Linked DNA regions of Homo sapiens: region 2 is linked to region 1. The links are contacts of gene promoters, found by promoter capture Hi-C in blood cells and fetal thymus (Javierre and others, 2016). All regions are on one chromosome and are shown on one strand. The core of a region is centred on a gene start or on the middle of the fragment in contact, and the rest is flanking DNA. Distances in the headings are between cores, read along the strand shown.

Region 1 (3,563 bases), core at 693-3,192:
TTCACCCTCCCCAGCCTTTCCTGCGTGCCTGTAATCAAAACCTTCCAGATCCCCCTTCCCCTTTTCTAAACAGGCCCAGTTCCCAAAGGAGGAAAAGCAGCCGTTCCCTCCTCAGTACCCCCTGGGGGAGTCCTGCGGCAAGGCAGAGAACCTGAAGCTGGACTTGTGCGACAGGCAGGAAGCCTGCAGGAGTGGAGGAAATTGCTGGGACCCCCACGGGGTGTTTGTTTTCTGGCTGCCCCAGCCGAGCCAGACGCAGAGCCCGGGCTCAGGAAGTGAAAGTTACTAAAGCTACCAAGGAAAGCTAGAGGCCTGAATGGACCCCAGTCCCCAGGGATAGAGAAAGAACTTCCCGCTCCCCTTCACTAATCCCTAAAAGCAGGAGAAAGCAGAGAGGTGGGGAGACTGGGTGAACAAACTGCTCTAAGAATGAAACGTGATTGCATCTCACAGGAACCCGTCTTGCTGCCTGGACTCCACTGGTCTGGGAAAAGTCGGGGGGGTCTCTGAGCAAACCATAGGTTATGTGCCTGCGCCCTCAGAGGACCTGTCTCTCCCTGCCAGCCAGCTCTGGAGCTTTCACGTGGTTCAGCGAATGCAGCTTGCTGACGAAGCCCGGGACTCCCACTCCACTCCACCCCCCACCCCCACCTTAAGGTGGCAGCTTTTATGAACCAGTAGCGAGAGCAGGGTTTTATACTGGACTCGAGGCCTCTATAGCCTTATCTTTTTTGCTCTGCTGGCCAGAGACCAATGCTGTCAGGGGTCGGGGAGCAGTGCCTCTAGGAAACCTAAGTGCTGGGGTGGGGGCCCCGGGCCATGCGTACCCGATTCGCAGGGCCCCGGGTGTGCCACAGTGAGGTTGGCATCGGGCCGAGCGCGGGCCGCCTCCTGCAGGCGGCAGATCTGGGAGTAGGTGTGACCGTCGGACCCGCAGAGCGGACTCTGCGAACGACAGGCACACAGAGGTTCCGGCACCTCTCCGCGGCTCAGGTCGCCGCCTGTGTCCAGCCGGCACTCAAGCTGCTCGCCGCAGTGCCCGTAGAAGTGAGCACTGGGGTCCAGGTCGCAGAGCTGGCCCTCGAGGTTGGCGCATTCCCAGCAGCAGCCGCACGCGTCGCGCACCCTGCCCGCCAGGCAGCCCCGCGGCGCGGCGCACTCTTCTGGCCGGCAGGGAGCGCAGCCCTCGCCCTCCGCTAGCAGCCGCATCCAGCCGCGCCGCAGGTAATCTGGGCCTGGGGATGGCCTTGCGCCGGTCGGGGGCGGCGTCAGCACCACCAGCAGTAGCAGGAGCACAGGCAGCGCCAAGGCAGCTGCGGGCCGCGGCGGCGGCAGCATGGTTAGCGGGAAGCCCTGCGAGCACTCGGGGCATCAGCGCGTTCGGGCACCCTGCCAGGAAGGGAAGCCAGGTCAGGAGGTCAGAAACAGGGCCTGTGCCGAAAGACCAACCTCACTGCTTCTTGTACCAAAGCATGACACTAGCATCGCCCCCTCCCCTGCTACCAAGTAGCCTCCCCCAACACACAGGCCTAGTGACCCTCTAGGGATTATCCAGTTATGGCAGTTAGCAATCAGTTGGGCTGTTCTTGGGAGGGCTGGGAGTGAAGAGAGGTGAGGAAAGGGTGATAAGGCTCAGGCGCACGCACACCCACCACCAGCACCACTTCCGTGCACCACCCGACTCCGATCCCTGGCCCCTGAGCATCCTTGCCCAAAGAGAATGGGTGGCTCCAGAAGTAAGAAGCTGCTAATGGGGGGTGAGAACTGGGGGGGCTGATGCCGCCTCGCTTATGGCCTGGGGCACAGAGTGCTCACCTAGTGTCCGGAACTAGACCCTTCGCAGCAGCCGTGATTCGAGTCCGAAAGAAAAGGTTATGGAAAGAAAGCAGAGGCGCAGTCAGCCGGGCCCGCCGGCCACCTCTGCTCCGTCCTGAGGACTTCTGAGAGAGCCCACGAACTTGGATTCAGAAAGCAGCTCCTCCGGCCCCCTCTCTCCGCCCCTCGACTTCGCGCACCCGCCTTCCCACTAGTTCTAAGGCTGCCAATTTTATGTAGCCGCATGGGACCCTCCCGGGTCATTTCCCCCAGCCTGGCCCAAAGTCACAATGCGAGCAGAGGAGCCGTAACCAGACACCGAGGCTGGGAGAGAGGAAGGGGGTGAGGACCGGAGGCGGGGAGTGGGGGTAGGAGTTTGGCTGGGAAGCTCAAAGTGTTGGCTGAACGGCTAGGCCCTGTCCCATCTGATTTTACAGTCCCTGGCGTCGGCGAGGGCAGCTGCATAAGGGGGAGGCGGCAGGAGCTCTGGTGCCAAGTCATTTTACGTCGATGTCGGGGCGCTCCTGGAGGGCAGGACCAACCACCTTCGTCTCCCCGCAGCCCAGGGCTGGTTCCCGGGAGCGACCGCAGGCTTGCCCACCCAGCTGCCCCACCAAGGCGCGGACAGACTGGGCGCCTACATCCGCCTTCCCTCATCTGGCCTCCTTCTTCCTCCCCACATCCGGCAGGTGCTGCGACCCGCGGGTGAGCCGGGTGATTCGAGGTCGGAGCCGACCAGCGGCCGCAGGGAGAGGCGGGCTGGCGCCTCCCCGGCGGGCGTCCCTCGGGTCGGGATTACAGGTTACGGTTGCGAGGCTGGCAGGGCCGGAGACACTCGGCCTCGCGGCCGCCACCACCGCCACCGTGGCACTTTGGGCCGGGGGCGGGGAGGAGAGCATTCCTAGGGGCCCGCCAGCCAAACCCGGGTCGGGCAGGCCCCGCCCCGGCCGGCCCCAAGCGGCTCACAGAAGCCTTGGCGCAGTCCAGCTCGCGGGGGGATGGGCGAGGGTGGGGGGCAGAAATAGCAATCTGCAGCCGGCAAGGGGGCGGCACTTAGTCAGGCTCCGCCCACAAGACCCGGCTGCCGTCCCCGCCCGCCTGCGCGGGATCGACTCCGCATGCGCACTGGAGCCTCGGAATACAGCCAGGACTCTCCCGTCGGAATGCGCCCCTAAGTTGGGCCAAGCCCATTCATTCAGGGGCTCCCGAGCCACGTAGGCGCCATCCCTGGCCAGAGGGGTTCTGAGGAGGTGGGCAAGGGCAGACACTCTCTCCCGGTCTCAAATTCGAAATAGGGACTAGAAGGGAACTTCACGCGAGGCCTCGCAACTGTCGCGAGAATCAGAACAGGAAATCTAGGAACCGAGAACACTAAGAGCCCGCGGATTTTAAACAGGAAAAAGAAAGGGCGGAGCAAACTCTGGCGGATAGTTGTGAGTAATCCCTGGTCCTTGGAATAAGTGTCGACCTGAGACAGAAGGGGAACTGTCAGAGAGCTGCCGGAGACCCTGAAAAAGGCCAGAGACGGGGACTTGTGGGGCTGACGAATGGAATCACCCAAGGAGAGGTCTCTGACTCTAACAAAACACCTTGGGGACGGAGCTCCTTGGCTGGGATACAGAGCAGACAAGTCCGGGATCTTTTAGTGAATTGCTGCCGGCTTCTAAGGCCTGGAGCAGATATTCAACAACAAACTCCACGGACCTAGAAACTCTCCACTTATCCTACTATTGTAGACGGTGGCTTAC
Region 2 (3,563 bases), core at 521-3,020, 750 kb before region 1:
AGGGGCTCGGCGGTTCCTCTGCGGTGTGGTGGAAGGTGAGCGCCCTCCTTCCCTCCCCGTTTTGGCACTAACACGTTCTGTCCTCGGGAGGAGGGTGGTGGCGGGGATTTTGGAGACTCTAAAAGGCCGGAAAGCCTCTGGGTCTGAAATGTGGCCCTCCTAAAGCGAGGGGAGAGACGAGATGTTGGGCGAATCTCCTTGCACGTCTTAAGACGGCGTCGAATTCCCCCCTGGCCACTCACAAGTCTGACCCCACCCGTCTTGGGCTTGGAGCCAGGCCACCTCCTAAGGAGGCGGTGGTTAAGAGCCTGGTGTTCTGTTAGCCTCTGAGTTCTACTTCTTTGTACCTTGGGATCTTATTCCCTAGGGTTGTCTGGTTCCAGTGAAAAAATATGTGTAGTGCTTCTGTCACCACCCTTTGTGGAAAATCGGCCCACACTGACGTGCTTGTACTTCTGGAGTGAAGAGAAGCACGTTTGGCCTATAGTATTTCAAGTTCCACTTGGCTTAGAATATTTTTGTTGCTTCCCCCCACCCCCGCAAAGATTCATTTGCAACTTAGAAAATTGCCCTCTTTCCCAGCTACTGTACTTTGCTCTCGAGGGATGAAACTTTGGCTTTAATCACAGATTCTCGAAGTATCTGAGATGCGTAATTGGAATTTAGTGACCGCAGAAGCGGCTTTAAAAATGCCCTTCTCGCCTTTTTTCCCATTTACAGTCGAAAAGAACGATGGACTTTTTGGTAGTGAGGGAAAATTACCAGATGCTTGTTTCAGTTTCTGGATGAGAATGGACAGATAGTCCACCTTGCAGCTCTGTAGAGGCACGAATCGGTTACATTATTAGTCTTTCCGCAGTTACAGCATGTATTTGAATTTTCTGAAGTATTTTGGCCGATTCAGAGTTTCCTAGATGTCTGTTTTATATCTCTCTCGTATGTAATGGCGTGGATAAGGGTAAAAAATATATATATTTAAAAAACCAAAAAGGTATGGAAAAAGGATTGCTCTCGACGTTGAGAACATCAGCTTTTCTGTTTTTTTTCACCATATAAATTAGAGTATTCTTTCGAAAAATGGGTGGTGGTTATGGTACAGACCATAACAGGCTACTTTGCTGCTACAGTAAGGCATGAAAGAGTTCAGCGAAGTTAACTGTCTTGCAGAATTTGGGGGATTACAGAATGGAAAACTGCTATATAGTATTCATCAAAAATGATTGCATTGTGTGACTTATATCGTTGTATTTATTGGCTTGAGTGCAGGGAGATTTTAGAAAAAGAATCTGGTTTTTGTTATCAAAGATCTTGGAGTGGGGATGAGAGAGTGCTGGGAAATTTCGGAGCTAGACTGGAATGAGTCTAAGGAAACTTGCCAGTCCATTATACCTTCAGTTATAAAAGGAGAAAACTCATTTGGTTTAAATTCGTTTGTTTAGAATAGCATTAAAAGGCGATTCTTCCTATTTAAAGAACAGAGTTGTCTGCCATTCTCTCGTTTATTCCTCCTCCCTCCCGTGCCCTTGTATATTTTCTTAGTGACTGAGCACCTGAGCCAGCACTGATTTTTTGTGTGTTTTGTTGTTTTTGTTTTGGGAGACGGAGTCTCGCTCTGTCGCCCAGGCTGGAGTGCAGTGGCGTGATCGCGGCTCACTGCAACCTCCGCCTCCCGGGTTCGAGCAATTCTCCTCCCTCACCCTCCCAAGTAGCTGGGACTGCAGACACGGGCCCGGCTAATTTTTTGTATTTTAGTAGAAACGGGTTTCACCGTGTTGCCCAGGCAGGTTTCCACCTACGGAGCTCAGGCAGTCCGCCCGCCTCGGTCTTCCAAAGTGCTAAGATTACAGGCGTGAACTACCGCGCCTGGCTTTTTTTTTTTTTTTTTTTTTTTTTTTCTCTCTTTTTGATACCTCTTGGTTGGCACCAGCCGTAAAATGAATGAGCATAGAAATACTATAGTTACTGCTAGGATTTCTTTTTTGTTTTCTTTCCATCACAAAACTCTCTTGGTTTTTAACTTACATTAACAGCATTGCTTCCTCTTTGTGGTGCCAGTCAACCGAAACCATGAACCTGACTCTCAAAAGAGCCAAGGTAGGGTTTCTAAAGATTAAAATGTTTAATTAAGCTAGACATTTGAAAAGTCTTTTTTTATATTGGAGCAACTCTGAAAGGATGTTTAATGCCTACTCCTTAAAAAAAAAATGATAATGCTAAGTGCCGTAGGGATGCTAAAGACTTGTATAGGTCTGCCTGATCAAGAATATTTTATATTGGCCGGGCGCGGTGGCTCACGCCTGTAATCCCAGCACTTTGGGAGGCCGAGGCGGGCGGATCACGAGGTCAGGAGATCGATACTAGCCTGGCCAACATGGCGAAACCCTGTCTCTACTAAAAATAGAAAAAATTAGCCGGGCGTGGTGGCGGGCTCCTGTAATCCCAACTACTCGGGAGGCTGAGACAGGAGAATCGCTTGAACCCGGGAGTTGGAGGCGTAGATTGCATTGAGCCGAGATAGTGCCACTGCACTCCAGCCTGGGCGACAGAGTGAGATTCCGCCTGAGAAAAAAAAAAAAGAATATTTTGTATCACTTGTGAGAGGCTAACATTAGATTGTCCAGATGAAAGTGCTACAGTTATACATTGGTATGTAATGAATTTTAATTTGGTCTGTCATTGTCCTTTTTGTGGTGCAGAGGAGTCATTCTGCCTAGAGATTGGAGCTAAAATACATTGCAGAAATTTGTTTTAGACTAGTCTCTTATGTAGATTGTGTGGGTTTATGTAGAACATTTTGTGTTCAGAATGCTTTTATTAACCTTCTTCATGGTACTCTTGAGAGGCTGTCCTTATCTCTTACTGATGATTAGACTGAGACAAGTGGAAAGTAAAGGTTAGACAAGATGTAAAGTGTGTGGTTTGAGCTGTGATGAGCACACTAGGGAGTTCCAGATACCAGTTTGATGCTTATTCAACCATTTAGGTTATCGGTCTGCGAGTTTGTTTTCTGCAGTGTGTGCATAACTAGTGTTTTGTCCTCTTAGAGGATACTCTGGGGACATTCTTGAGTTTTCTTTGTTTATTCCTTTCCGTTTAAGGACCAGAAGTAATATTCTTGAATTTTCATTTGTTCAGATCTTTGCTCTGTAATTAAGATTGCGTGAGAGTTTGTTGTTTGGGCCAGTTAGGCTGTTGAATTTCTTGGGAATGTGGTTTCAGGCATTTTTTGGTCCCTTTGATTATATCATTGTATGTGGAACTTTTTTTGAGAGAGAGAGTTTTGCTCTGTCACCTAGGCTGGAATGCAATGGCGCGGATCTTGGCTCACCGCAGCCTCCGCCTCCTGGATTCAAGCAGTTCTCCTGCCCTAGCCTCCCAAGTAACTGGAATTCCAGTCCTGGCCAGGAACTTTTTTTAAAAAAGAGGAGCACGATCATAAAATTAAGTCAGATTCTTTCCTAATCCTATCTCTGATTTGTTTTTAATTGCTTTACCTGTTTATCTCCCCTCACCCTTTTGTTGTTGTTGTTTGAGATGGAGTCTTGCTCTGTAGCCCAGGCTGT

What was found. The method cuts DNA at HindIII sites, captures the fragments that hold promoters and counts their contacts. A CHiCAGO score of 5 or more calls a contact.
Region 2: a fragment that was not itself captured here is called in contact with the fragment with the promoter of KAZALD1 in region 1 in 1 of 17 cell types (erythroblasts); the score reaches 7.1 in erythroblasts.

What each region holds. Positions count from the first base shown.
Region 1 is chr10:101,060,368-101,063,930 of GRCh38, reverse strand. KAZALD1 (Kazal type serine peptidase inhibitor domain 1) reads right to left here and starts at 1,942. Exons shown (of 5, transcript NM_030929.5): 1 at 1,816-1,942; 2 at 828-1,389. The coding sequence starts at 1,338. LOC107984262 (a long non-coding RNA gene) reads left to right here and starts at 3,180. Exons shown (of 2, transcript XR_001747569.3): 1 at 3,180-3,563. RefSeq lists silencers at 1,228-1,277, 2,458-2,877 and enhancers at 1,190-2,078, 3,005-3,299. The HindIII fragment of the contact is 11,916 bases long and covers 1-3,563 here.
Region 2 is chr10:101,814,296-101,817,858 of GRCh38, reverse strand. It overlaps OGA (O-GlcNAcase), which reads left to right. Exons shown (of 16, transcript NM_012215.5): 1 at 1-35. Among named protein-coding and RNA genes, the nearest start is that of OGA, 2.4 kb to the left of the region's middle. The HindIII fragment of the contact is 4,868 bases long and covers 1-3,563 here.